3 separate regions of the Homo sapiens genome follow, and regions 2 and 3 are each linked to region 1. Evidence: promoter capture Hi-C in human tissues and cell types (Jung and others, 2019). All regions are on one chromosome and are shown on one strand. The core of a region is centred on a gene start or on the middle of the fragment in contact, and the rest is flanking DNA. Distances in the headings are between cores, read along the strand shown.

What was found. Contacts are between HindIII fragments. The study calls those that stand out against the background at their distance.
Region 2: a contact is called between a fragment that was not itself captured here and the fragment with the promoter of LPAR1 in region 1, in 6 of the 25 tissues and cell types used here (IMR-90 fibroblasts, aorta, dorsolateral prefrontal cortex and 3 more).
Region 3: a contact is called between a fragment that was not itself captured here and the fragment with the promoter of LPAR1 in region 1, in 1 of the 25 tissues and cell types used here (hippocampus).

The regions. Positions count from the first base shown.
Region 1 is chr9:111,036,908-111,040,356 of GRCh38, reverse strand. LPAR1 (lysophosphatidic acid receptor 1) reads left to right here and starts at 1,887. Exons shown (of 6, transcript NM_001351411.2): 1 at 1,887-2,190. LOC124902248 (a long non-coding RNA gene) reads right to left here and starts at 3,429. Exons shown (of 2, transcript XR_007061732.1): 1 at 2,568-3,429; 2 at 1-902. RefSeq lists a silencer at 2,118-2,457. The HindIII fragment of the contact is 11,259 bases long and covers 1-3,449 here.
Region 2 is chr9:110,818,990-110,822,438 of GRCh38, reverse strand. No RefSeq gene overlaps it. Among named protein-coding and RNA genes, the nearest start is that of MUSK, 150 kb to the right of the region's middle. RefSeq lists an enhancer at 968-1,177. The HindIII fragment of the contact is 4,406 bases long and covers 1-3,449 here.
Region 3 is chr9:110,842,888-110,846,336 of GRCh38, reverse strand. No RefSeq gene overlaps it. Among named protein-coding and RNA genes, the nearest start is that of MUSK, 180 kb to the right of the region's middle. The HindIII fragment of the contact is 3,872 bases long and covers 1-3,449 here.

The sequences.
Region 1 (3,449 bases), core at 638-3,137:
GTATAGGAAGAAAGAGACGGGAAAATTAGCTAATAAGTGATTTTTTGACTTGAGTAGAGCTATGGTTAAAAATATATGGAAACCTCTTTCGAGTATATTTTTTTCTTACCAATATATACTTTTTATGATACTGAGATTTTATAGTGAACATTTGCCTATTCATCCCAATATAATATTTCTTATAGTTTGGTATCAACCCCTATGATTATTTGTGAGATAAGGGAGTGGTTTGTATTCATGGGTATACATATCTATACACATTTCTGCATGCCGTACACAAACATAAGTAGCATTGTGCATGAACATATTAGCACTGTGCATGTACTAAAATTTCAATTTTTTCACATAGTAGGTTATAAAATAAATCATATATTCGTAGGAAAGGTATAGAAAGCAAAGTTATTTAAAGTGGATTTTTAAAAAAGATTTGAATGATTTTTTTTAAAAAAAAGATTAGAACCATTGTTTTTAAAAGGAAACAGCTTTAGATAGTAAATTATTTACAGCCAGGACTCAGCCCTGAGCATCCTGTGAAAACCACACGAGCTTGGTCAAGGTTCTAAGCAGTCACCGGTGGGAGATGGTCATGGTCCCGTCACAGCATAACTCACTTGAGGCTTGAAAAGTTTCCGTCCAGCTACGGTTTGCAGTGACCTTTCTCTTCTGCAAAGCCCACGGTTACCTGGTGGCCACCACCAACATAGCCCCGCCTCGCTGTCCTGCGTTTCTCTCAATCAGATCAGTCCTGCCGAGTCCCCATGCCTTACTGCTGGTGTGCTGTGTCCTCTGTGCCATTTCAAGGCGAGGGCTCATGAAACTTTTACTCACACGCTGCTATTTTTGATATGCGGTGGCCTTAGCTGTGGAGCGAGAGGCCGATAATTGTGATCACTCCGGAAATCCTGGGAAGCCAGAAGTGGGAGATGGGTGTTGTGAGGTGGCGTGGCTAGGGAGACCCCATCGAGTGGGTGTGTTATAAGACCTGGGCGAATCCCTGTGGCTGCCACTCTCCTGAGAATGTTCCCTAGGCCTTAGTCCCGCGCCGCTCCCACCCACACCTCCAGGTGTGCAGTCCCCGCCCTTAATTACTCTCACTAAAATTGATAGTTTACACTTGCAAAGCTACACTGGGAAAGCGGAAGAGAAATTTATAATCGTGGATATGGAGAACTAGGGGAGCAGACACACTTGCTTTCGTTTACAGATCCAGTGAAGTGAAAAATCAGAACTAGAAACGTATGCACCTTCCTAGCAGCAAAGCCGCTTCTGCGTTCTTCGCAGCCTCCAGTGCAGGGCGGCGCTGGGAGAAACTTTGCGCCTTCTGGAAAGTTTAGAAAGTGAGCCACGAAAGAGAGGCCACATTTCCGGGGTTTTGCGGGCCCCGCGATGTTTTCCAGAGCTTTTCGAGTGGGAAGAGGAGAGCGACAACGTGAAAATGCCCCGTGCCGGGGCGTCCACCGGAGTCCTGCCAGCTGTCCGGCGCTGGGGTAAGCGCAGGAGGGGCGGGGGTGGGACCCGAGCTGGCGGCCACGGGTCTCCCGCTGCGGGTGTGTCGACTCGGGGGCGGGGCGGGGGAGGCTGCTGAGATAATGAATGGGAGGCTAAGGCCACCCCCCAGCCCCGGCCCTGCCACCACCGTGGGCTGTCGAGCCAATGAATGGAGGAGGGGGCGCAGAGGTCAGGGGCGCTGGGGGCGCCACACCAGGTAAGGGGTCCAGCTTGGGAGCGGGGAGGGCGGACTCTGGGGGTTCGGGTGTTGCTGACTTGTGCTACGTGGAACAAGCAGAAAAGAAGGAAGGCGGAGGAAGAGAGGAGGCTGGCGTCGGCGCTGCTCCTCTGGCCCTCCCTCTGCGCCCCCTCCTCCTGCCAGCGCGCCAAAGCCGGGCAGTAGGGGCCGACTGGCGGCTGACGCTCCCTGAGTGGCGACTCCGTCTCCAGCCCCGCTGCGGAGCGCGGGCCGGATCTGGGGCGGCCAGGGCCCGGAGCCGCGGAGCCCTCCCCGCCGCCCGGCCGAGCACGGGACCCCGGCGGGGTGGGCGCAGGGGGCGGCCCCGCTCTGGGCGACTGCCGAGGGGCGGGCGGAGGGCCGGGCTCGGCTGGCGGTGGGGCGGGGGCCGCCGGGACTGGGCGCGCGGCCTGAAGCCAGCCCGGGGGCGGCAGGAGAGGGACGCGCGGCGGCAGCGAGCGCAGGTAAGGGGGCCGGCGCGGCGTGTGGGGACGGCGCCCCCTGGGCGCGAAGCCAGAGGCCGCGGCGACTGCTCGGCCCGCCACACGGCGCGCTGGGCTCACACTGTCCCGCCGCGGACGGGCTTTGTGGTTGGGGGCGCGCGTGCGAGTGCCAGTGAGAGTGTGGGTGCGCGCTGTGGGCCGCGGCGCGGGTGGGTGGCCGTGCGTTCTTGCGAGCCGGCCTGCAGGAGGCGAGGCTCCCCTGGCCTCCCGCACCCAGCGGCGGACCGAGCCCCTGGAGGGAAGTTGCCGCAGCCGCCCGGGCCGCCGGCCCTCCTGTCCCGCGCCAGGTCAGTGCGCCCCGGGGCCCGCCCAGTGACACGTAGGTGGCCTCCGGTTACCTGGGTCGGGGTGGGTGCGCGGGAGGGCTTGCGAGGGGCCCTCGAAATTCTCCCAAAACCTCGTCCCGCTGGACTTGCACCTCCGAGGGGTCCCTGCGCCCCTGGGGCTCCGCACCTCTCGCTTCCCACTGACGACTCGGTTGTCCCCCACCACCGGGCTGAGGACTTTTAACTAAGTTTCTGTCCAGCCGCCTAACAAACGTGCTTAACAAGTAACAGGAGGTTGTAAGGCAAGGGAGGGACCTGGCTTTGAAAGTTGATGGTTTTGAAATCGACGGCTCCTTTGACTTGCGTAGGACTCCTTTGTGGTGAATGGATTTAAAGTTTATTCTTGTTTTTCTTTGCTGCCATTTGGTCTTTGCAATGTTAAGAGTGAAGGCATTCAGGACTTGCTGCTGCCTGCTGTCTGGGGCCTGAGGTTGTGGCTCTCCGCTTCTGCTCTCCTCTCTTCATTTTTGTTGAAATCCGTGGATTTTTTCATAAATGTGGGTGCTGGCTTGTTTCACTATGGACGCGTCGTTTCCTATGGGGTTAGATAGATATTGGTAAACATAAATATTGAAAATGTGATGATCACATATTGATGATCACAGCGAAATCCTCTATTCCTTCAGGCTCTAACAGTTTGTTTTTCACGTATTTGCATAAGTGTGTTTGCTCAGCTAAGCATAATTGGTAAGCCAGAGGTCTGTGATTCAGAGTCTGCAGTTCTGGTTAAGGGGAGACTGTACACTTGGAAAATGCGAAGTTTTTTAAGAAGTTATTCCCTTGCCGGATAGAAGAGTGGGTCCCAAGGAAAAAGGGTGTATTTTAGAGGTATGGTTATTTGAACCAAACTAAACATCATTAAAATACACAGGGAGGTAGAATGTCACCTAGTTC
Region 2 (3,449 bases), core at 443-2,942, 220 kb after region 1:
CTTTACTTTTTCCCCAAGTAGAAGGGGTCTCCCCGTAGCTATCTCAGCTGAGAATGTGCTTGGTCACACCTGAAGCCAGCAGGGCTCTGAGTCTCATCCAAGGCTCATAGCGAGTACTGCCTGGCTGCCACTGCTGATTATTTGGGGACCAAGGGCTCTTTAGTCAGCAGGTGATGAATCCTGCCAAGAATGGGTCCTTCCCTTCAAGGAAACCGATTCCCTTCTGGCCCAAGGTGTGTCCAGAAATGTCAGGAGTTAGGGTCTGAATTGGGGGCCTCAAGGACTCTGCCAAGTGCCCTATCCTACTGTGGCTGAGTTGGTATCCAAGTTGCAAGACAAACTTCTCTTTACTCTTCTCTCTCCCCTCCTTAAGCACAGGGAAGGAGCTTCTCCTAGAGCTGCAAGCTGCACTGCCTGTAGTTGGGGAAGGTGTGACTCAAGCATTTCCATGGCCACCCAGCTGACAACCATATATTCTCATATTGACTTTTCTCTTTTAGCTAAACTACTTAAACTTTAAAAGAAAACTTTTTTTTCTCCTTTTCTATAGCAACCTGTTTTTATAGTTTTGGATGCAATATCTGAATATCCTATCAAGCTTCCCTGAGAATACAAATCAGAATTTTTTCCTTAGATCGTCTCAGTTCTGTGAAAAATTGCTTTTTCCTCAGGGGTCATTATTATTTTTGTAATGTGCTCATTTGATTCCTCTCACTGGTGTCGTGATTTGTCTTGGCTATCTGCTAATGCTTGAGTCTCTCTTCGTGAAGGAATGGATTGGTGAAACTCAGGCACAGCTGTGAGCTTTTTCTATAGATTTTTCCTTCAATAGGCCTTTCTCCTGAATCCTCATTTTGGTGTTTGGCTATTTGCTCATCACTTTTGCTCTCTAAACTAAAGCCTATGAAGTTCTCTGAAGTACCTGGATCACCAAGGGTAACTATAATCCTACCCAAATAAATTATTTACTATTTTAGAGAATAGCTTCTACTTTGGTTAAATGGTGGTGCCACCCATCATTCTGTATAGTCAGGGGCCTGGAACAGAGAGGCTGGCTGAGCAGAGCAGGCATTCTAGTGGCTGAAGGAGATTTCTCTTTCTGTTTCCCTTTCTACTCTCTATGCCTGCCTCTGCCTAGCCAGAAGCCTATCAAGGGTTCAGCCATGAAGAATGGCTTCTACTGCCTCGTTCTCTTGTTTCCTGTGCTCTGTTATCTGTCAGCCTGACCCCAATCTGCTTTCCATATTCCACATATGTTTTCAATCTGTAGTCTACTGAGGCCACAGGTATTGAGACAAACACATGTGTTTCCTCTTCCATCTTGAACTGGAAGCTTATCTAAAATGAAAAACCTCACAATAAACCCCTCCCAAATTAAGATTACCAAGCACTAAATCTTCAAGTTAAGGAACATAAGTAAATCAATTTATATGTAACATCGTCCATTTTATATCTTAGCATGTTACTATTCATGTTTTCCTTTTTAACACAAAAAAGAATTAGTTTTAAAGATTTCTGTTCAAAAGGTACACATCCATAAAACCCCCCTATGTGATTTTGGTGCTAACTATTCCAGGAGCAAATTGCCTGTAGGAATTATAGGTTTAGCCTAACTTTGAGCACTTTCTTCTAAAACTGTTCTACAGCTCTTAGAACCTTGTTCAGTCTCTCTAGGGAAGACATATTTAGATATGAATGAGGATTTTTGGAAACTTATCTGCTGAGAAACATCTCAAGTAAAGTAGACCTTTCTGCCCCCCTCCACTTGCCCCCAGCAAAGAAATTTCCTGGAGATAAACTGTTCTCAAGCCAATGATTCTGCCCAAGAGATTCCAGGCTCACAGCTGCTTAGGCAAATTGCCCATCCTGCACTGCTGGTCCACAGACAGGGGTTGTCCAACAACACAAAGCTCCAGTTTAGTTGCCCCCTTCTTTGAATTTAAAGTTTAGGGAGGGTGAGCAACTCTCATCCTTTCTCTTGAAGTTTTGGTGGGAGGCTTCTCCATTTTTCTGGCTTTGGAGAAGTGAAAAAACGTCTTGACTAGATGTACACAGTGTCATTGTAATGGCTGTCAACACATGCTTGATAGCATGTCCTTTTGTCAGAACACTGGAAAACTTATCTCTGGCAGGAATTTTGTTTGACCATTCATTCATGAAAGGTGTATAATTATAATTCCTAGTACTTAAACCAAAAATATTTTGGGTTGTTTGGGAATCTGTTCAACTAACTAGAACATATTGAAAGAAGAAAAAAATGTAAATCAAGTCAATAAGGCCTTCGTATACACATTGTAATTGCAATACTGCTGTGAGTACTCTTGTACTCTAAATATCCCTCAATATTTCAGCTATTTTCAATTGACCTATTTTATTTTTTTTGTACACCTTAGGTAGGAGGTAGAGACTTTGGGACAGGGCCAAATGCCTTTGGCTGTGGTCTCTGGTCATACATACTAGTTTGTGACCAGTAGCCTCTGCCTCAGTGGTCACAGTCAAGGAGACACACAGACAAGATTTCTGCTGTAAGGACCAGCAAGAATCCAGAGGCACTGCATGTAATCTTGGGTCCTCTTTGTTGCTCTCATAAGGTGAGGTAATCATTTTACCACTGCCCATATCCCATCCTGAAGAAGGACAGAGGATGTGTCACTCCATCTAAAAATCTGAGAGCCACAGAATTTTATAGGAGATGACTGAGTTTCTACAAGGACTGCTAAATAAAGTTGGTGGACCAAATTTACTGTAGTAAGCTCAAAGATAGATTTCCTTTCTACACAGCAGGTGAGAATACTTGAAGAAGCAACAAAGAAGCTACATTTTTCTGTATTTTCTCTGGTTGTAAACAAATCTGTGACTCTGACAGTACATGCATTTACTGTGACTCTGATAGTATGTGTATTTATTGACCTGTTTTTCCAGCTTGGGACACAAGCATGTTCACATGTCTAATTTTTTCAATTACTACTTCAAACACCCACCAATTCCTCCTCTTATGTTCTCTCCTTCTGTATCCTCAATTGTCCAAGGACCCCAGGCAAAAAAGACTAGCTGTGCTTCAACATCCCAGAGGAGACAAGGAACTAGAAGGAGAAATCAGTCCATCAGCTCTACTGCTGTAGTTATTGCCCACAACACTCTTGCTGCTGGAGACCTGGTCTATGCAGACTGGTGGATGCTTATTCACTGTGCAGTGATCTCTTATCTAGTCCAATCTCATGCCTGTGCTTTGGCAAGGGCTTAGGCAAGGGCTTTGGCAAGGGGCTTCCTACTTTAGCTTCATGCTGCTTCCCAATTTTCATACCTTGTGTTGAGCTCCAGTACCATCCCAAACTTCCTTTCCCTTCTGGTGAGTGCTTCTGGGGGACTTTGCTTGCTTTCTTGCTAGGGGAACTTGCACGAGACCATCTCAGTCCATTCTGATGAGTCCTTCTAACTTTGAATCTTAG
Region 3 (3,449 bases), core at 658-3,157, 190 kb after region 1:
TTAGATTGAGCCCAGTGTTGAGGGAAGCAGAAAATTGCATGGGTCCATAGACGGATGGCAAAATTCTGTGGGTTTTTTCTTTTCTTTTTTTTTTATGGTATTTAAGAGTGTTTTAAAGATTTTAGTGATTTGAATTCTTATTTCTTTTCTTGTATTATGCTTTCTCTTTTCTTTGAATTCCTTCAGAGTTTCTGGCTTACTAAAAAATAAAAGATTTGACCTTATCTCTTATGGTTCTCTCATTTTGTTTCTCTGCTTTGCTACAGAACTTCTCAGATTTTGTTGGGAGTCACTATTTCCACTTCCTTACAACCCATTTTCGTTTCATTTTTCTTTTCTTTTCTTTTCTTTTTCTTTTTTTTTTTTTTTTGAGGCAGAGTCTTGCTCTGTTGCCTAGCCTGGAGTGCAGCGGCACGATCTCAGCTCACTGCAACCTCCGCCTCCTGGGTTCAAGCGATTCTCATGCCTCAGCCCCCCAAGTAGCTGGGATTACAGATGTATACCACCATACCTAGCTAATTTGTTTGTATTTTTAGTAGAGAGGGGGTTTCACCATGTTGGCGAGGCTGGTCTTGAACTCCTGGCCTCAAGTGATCTGCCTGCCTTGGCTTCCCAAAGTGCTAGGATTACAGGCGTGAGCCACCACCTTTTCAAATTTTTAAAAAAGACATTAAAAATTTTCTTTTTAATCCACCCTAATCGGGCTTTTATTTCTACCTCTCTCTTAAAAGCACTCTTGTCTTTCTAAATATGGTGGTCATTTCTCTTATCTTCTCTTACTCAGCAGCATTTGATGGGTTTGACAAACATCTTCTTCACTAGGCTTCCATAATTAAATGCTTCCATTGTTTTCCTCCTACTTCTATGGCTGCACCTTCAATGTCGGCCTGTCTGGTTCTTTTTCCTCTTCATAATCTCTAAATATTGTAGTGCCCCAGGGCTTGGTCCTGGGCCTTCTTCTAAATACTATCTCACTGATTTCTGTCAATTATAATAGGACTTTAAATATACCAACGTGTCTTTTAAATATATGTGCCTAGCCCTGTGCCCTCCCTTGAATCCCAAACTACCTGACAACTTCATCTTGCTGTTTAATAGACCTTTCAAACCTAACATATCTAAAACAAATCACTTCACATCCATTCTCTTCCGCTGCCCCAAAATAACCATCACCTTTTCCTATCCCAATACCTATCTCAACAAACACACCCTATTAGCCATCCAGTCACTTAAGACCCATATTCAGAGGCACCTTCAGTACCTCCTTTTCTTCATTCACAACACAATCCTGTAGCAAGTGTGGCCTGCTTTATTTCTAGAATGTAACTCAAATTCAAATACCTGCTTTCCATTTCAGTTGCTACCTCTCTGGTCCCAGTTCCTATCATCAGCCTCTAAATTAATTTAACAGCCTCTTAACTGGTATCCCTCATCTACCTTTGAAAAAAAAATAAAATCGATGTTTTAGAACAGTTTTGGATTTACAGAAAACTTAGGAAGATTATAGAGTTCCCACATCCCCTATACCTGGTTTTTGCTATTATTAACACTCTACATTTCTATAGTATGTTTGTTATAGTGAATGAATTGATATCGATCATTATTATTAACTAAAGTTCACAGTTTATTCAGATTTCACTAGTTTTTCCTAATGTCCTTTTTCTGTTTCTGAATTTTATTTAAGATACCGTATTTCATTCAGTTATCATATCTCCTTAGCCTTCTCTTTACTGTGACAGTTTCTCAGGCTTTGCTTTTTTTTTTTTTTTTTTGATGCCCCTGAAAGTTTTGAAGAGTCTTTCCCTTTGTGCTCTTTTGTTCACTGACTGCTATTTCATGATTTTGGGGCATCGTGGAAGTGTGAGAGGTATTAAAAGAAAAGGACAATGGCTTATGTGGCTTTTGTGCCATAATCTAACACTGGAACCTCCTGCCTGTTAGGTTCTCAGTTACTGTTTTTCTTTCATGGGTCACTTTTATGAATTCTTTGCAGATTATCTGGGGATTTTTGATCTGGCACTACTCCCTAGTATTAGTAATGCAGTCTCCATCTGCCACCTCTGATGTCTTGTTACTGTCAGCTTCTGCTTCTCAGGTTAAGACTACAGAGCTCTTATCACTGAGGTCCCCTTGCCCTGGCCAATTTCTCAGGTAGAGACCTTGCAAGATGACTCAAACTAGGCTTCACTGAACTTCACTGCTACTCTGAGAAGGTCTGAAACTCTCATATAACCCATTAGGAAAATCTCATCCCAAATTCTTTATGGATAGGTATATCAATCCATTCTCACATTGCTATAAAGAACTACCTGAAACTGGGTAATTTATAAGAAAAGGGGTTGAGTTGGCTCATTGTTCTGCAGGCTGTACTGGAAGCATGGCTGGGGGAGGCCTCAGGAAACTTACAATCATGGTGGAAGATGAAGGGGAAGCAGGCATGCTCGACACAGCTGGAGGAGGAGGGAGAGAGAGTGAAGGGGGTGGTGCTACACACTTTTAAACAACCAGGTATCATGAGAACTCAATCACGAGACAGCACTAGGGGGATGGTACTAAATCACTAGAAACCACCCCCATGATCCAATCACTTCCCACCAGGACCCACCTTCAACATTTGGAATTACAACTCAACATGAGATTTGGGTGGGGACACAAAGCCAAACCATATCAACAGGCTACTCTCACATAAGCCCTATGTCTTTGTTTTGCTATCACAGGTGGCCCCAGACAAGAGAAAAGTTTTGCTCTATGGACCATCTAGGTTCCAGGAGATCCATGTCAACTCTCCATGTGCCTCCCTGTTTCCCCCAAAACCATGTCCAGTTAAACTTGGGAGAAACAGTGAAAATCATGCTTGAGGAAATTTTAGGGAAACATGCCAACATTTTTAAGTATGGCTTGAGTTTCTAATTTGACTTTAAGATTGTCTGAAATATCTCTTCTATTGTTTACTGCCTTCATTATGTTTTAAATTTGGTAGTTGTGATAGTAGTCTGATATTCTTGGAATATTCTTGGAAAGCCTTGGAATATTTTCCCTTTGGGTCATAAAGGATTCATCTAGGAAACGTTTTTCAATGAGCTACTGTGAGAGGAATTCAGAGAGAGTCTGACCTGCCTTGATTAGTTCAAGGCTTAGCCTGCCTTTACCAGAGGGAGTTAGATTCATCTTTCACCCCCAACCCTCACCCCCAATACACACACAGGGACTTCATGGACTTGCATATCAGCTTTGGAGGCATTTGGGACTGGCCAGTTGCCCCAACAGCTTGAGATATGACTGGATATAATGTAACAGGGATAGAGGGGTGTGGTTAGAACGTGTCACAAAAATGTATAAGGAAGGTCACGTTCAGAGGCAGAGAAATGCTGCTATTTGTGTGAGTGCTGGGCCTCCCAAATGGAATGATCACAGACAAAGTCTTTCAATGACTGACTTTTCTGAGCAGA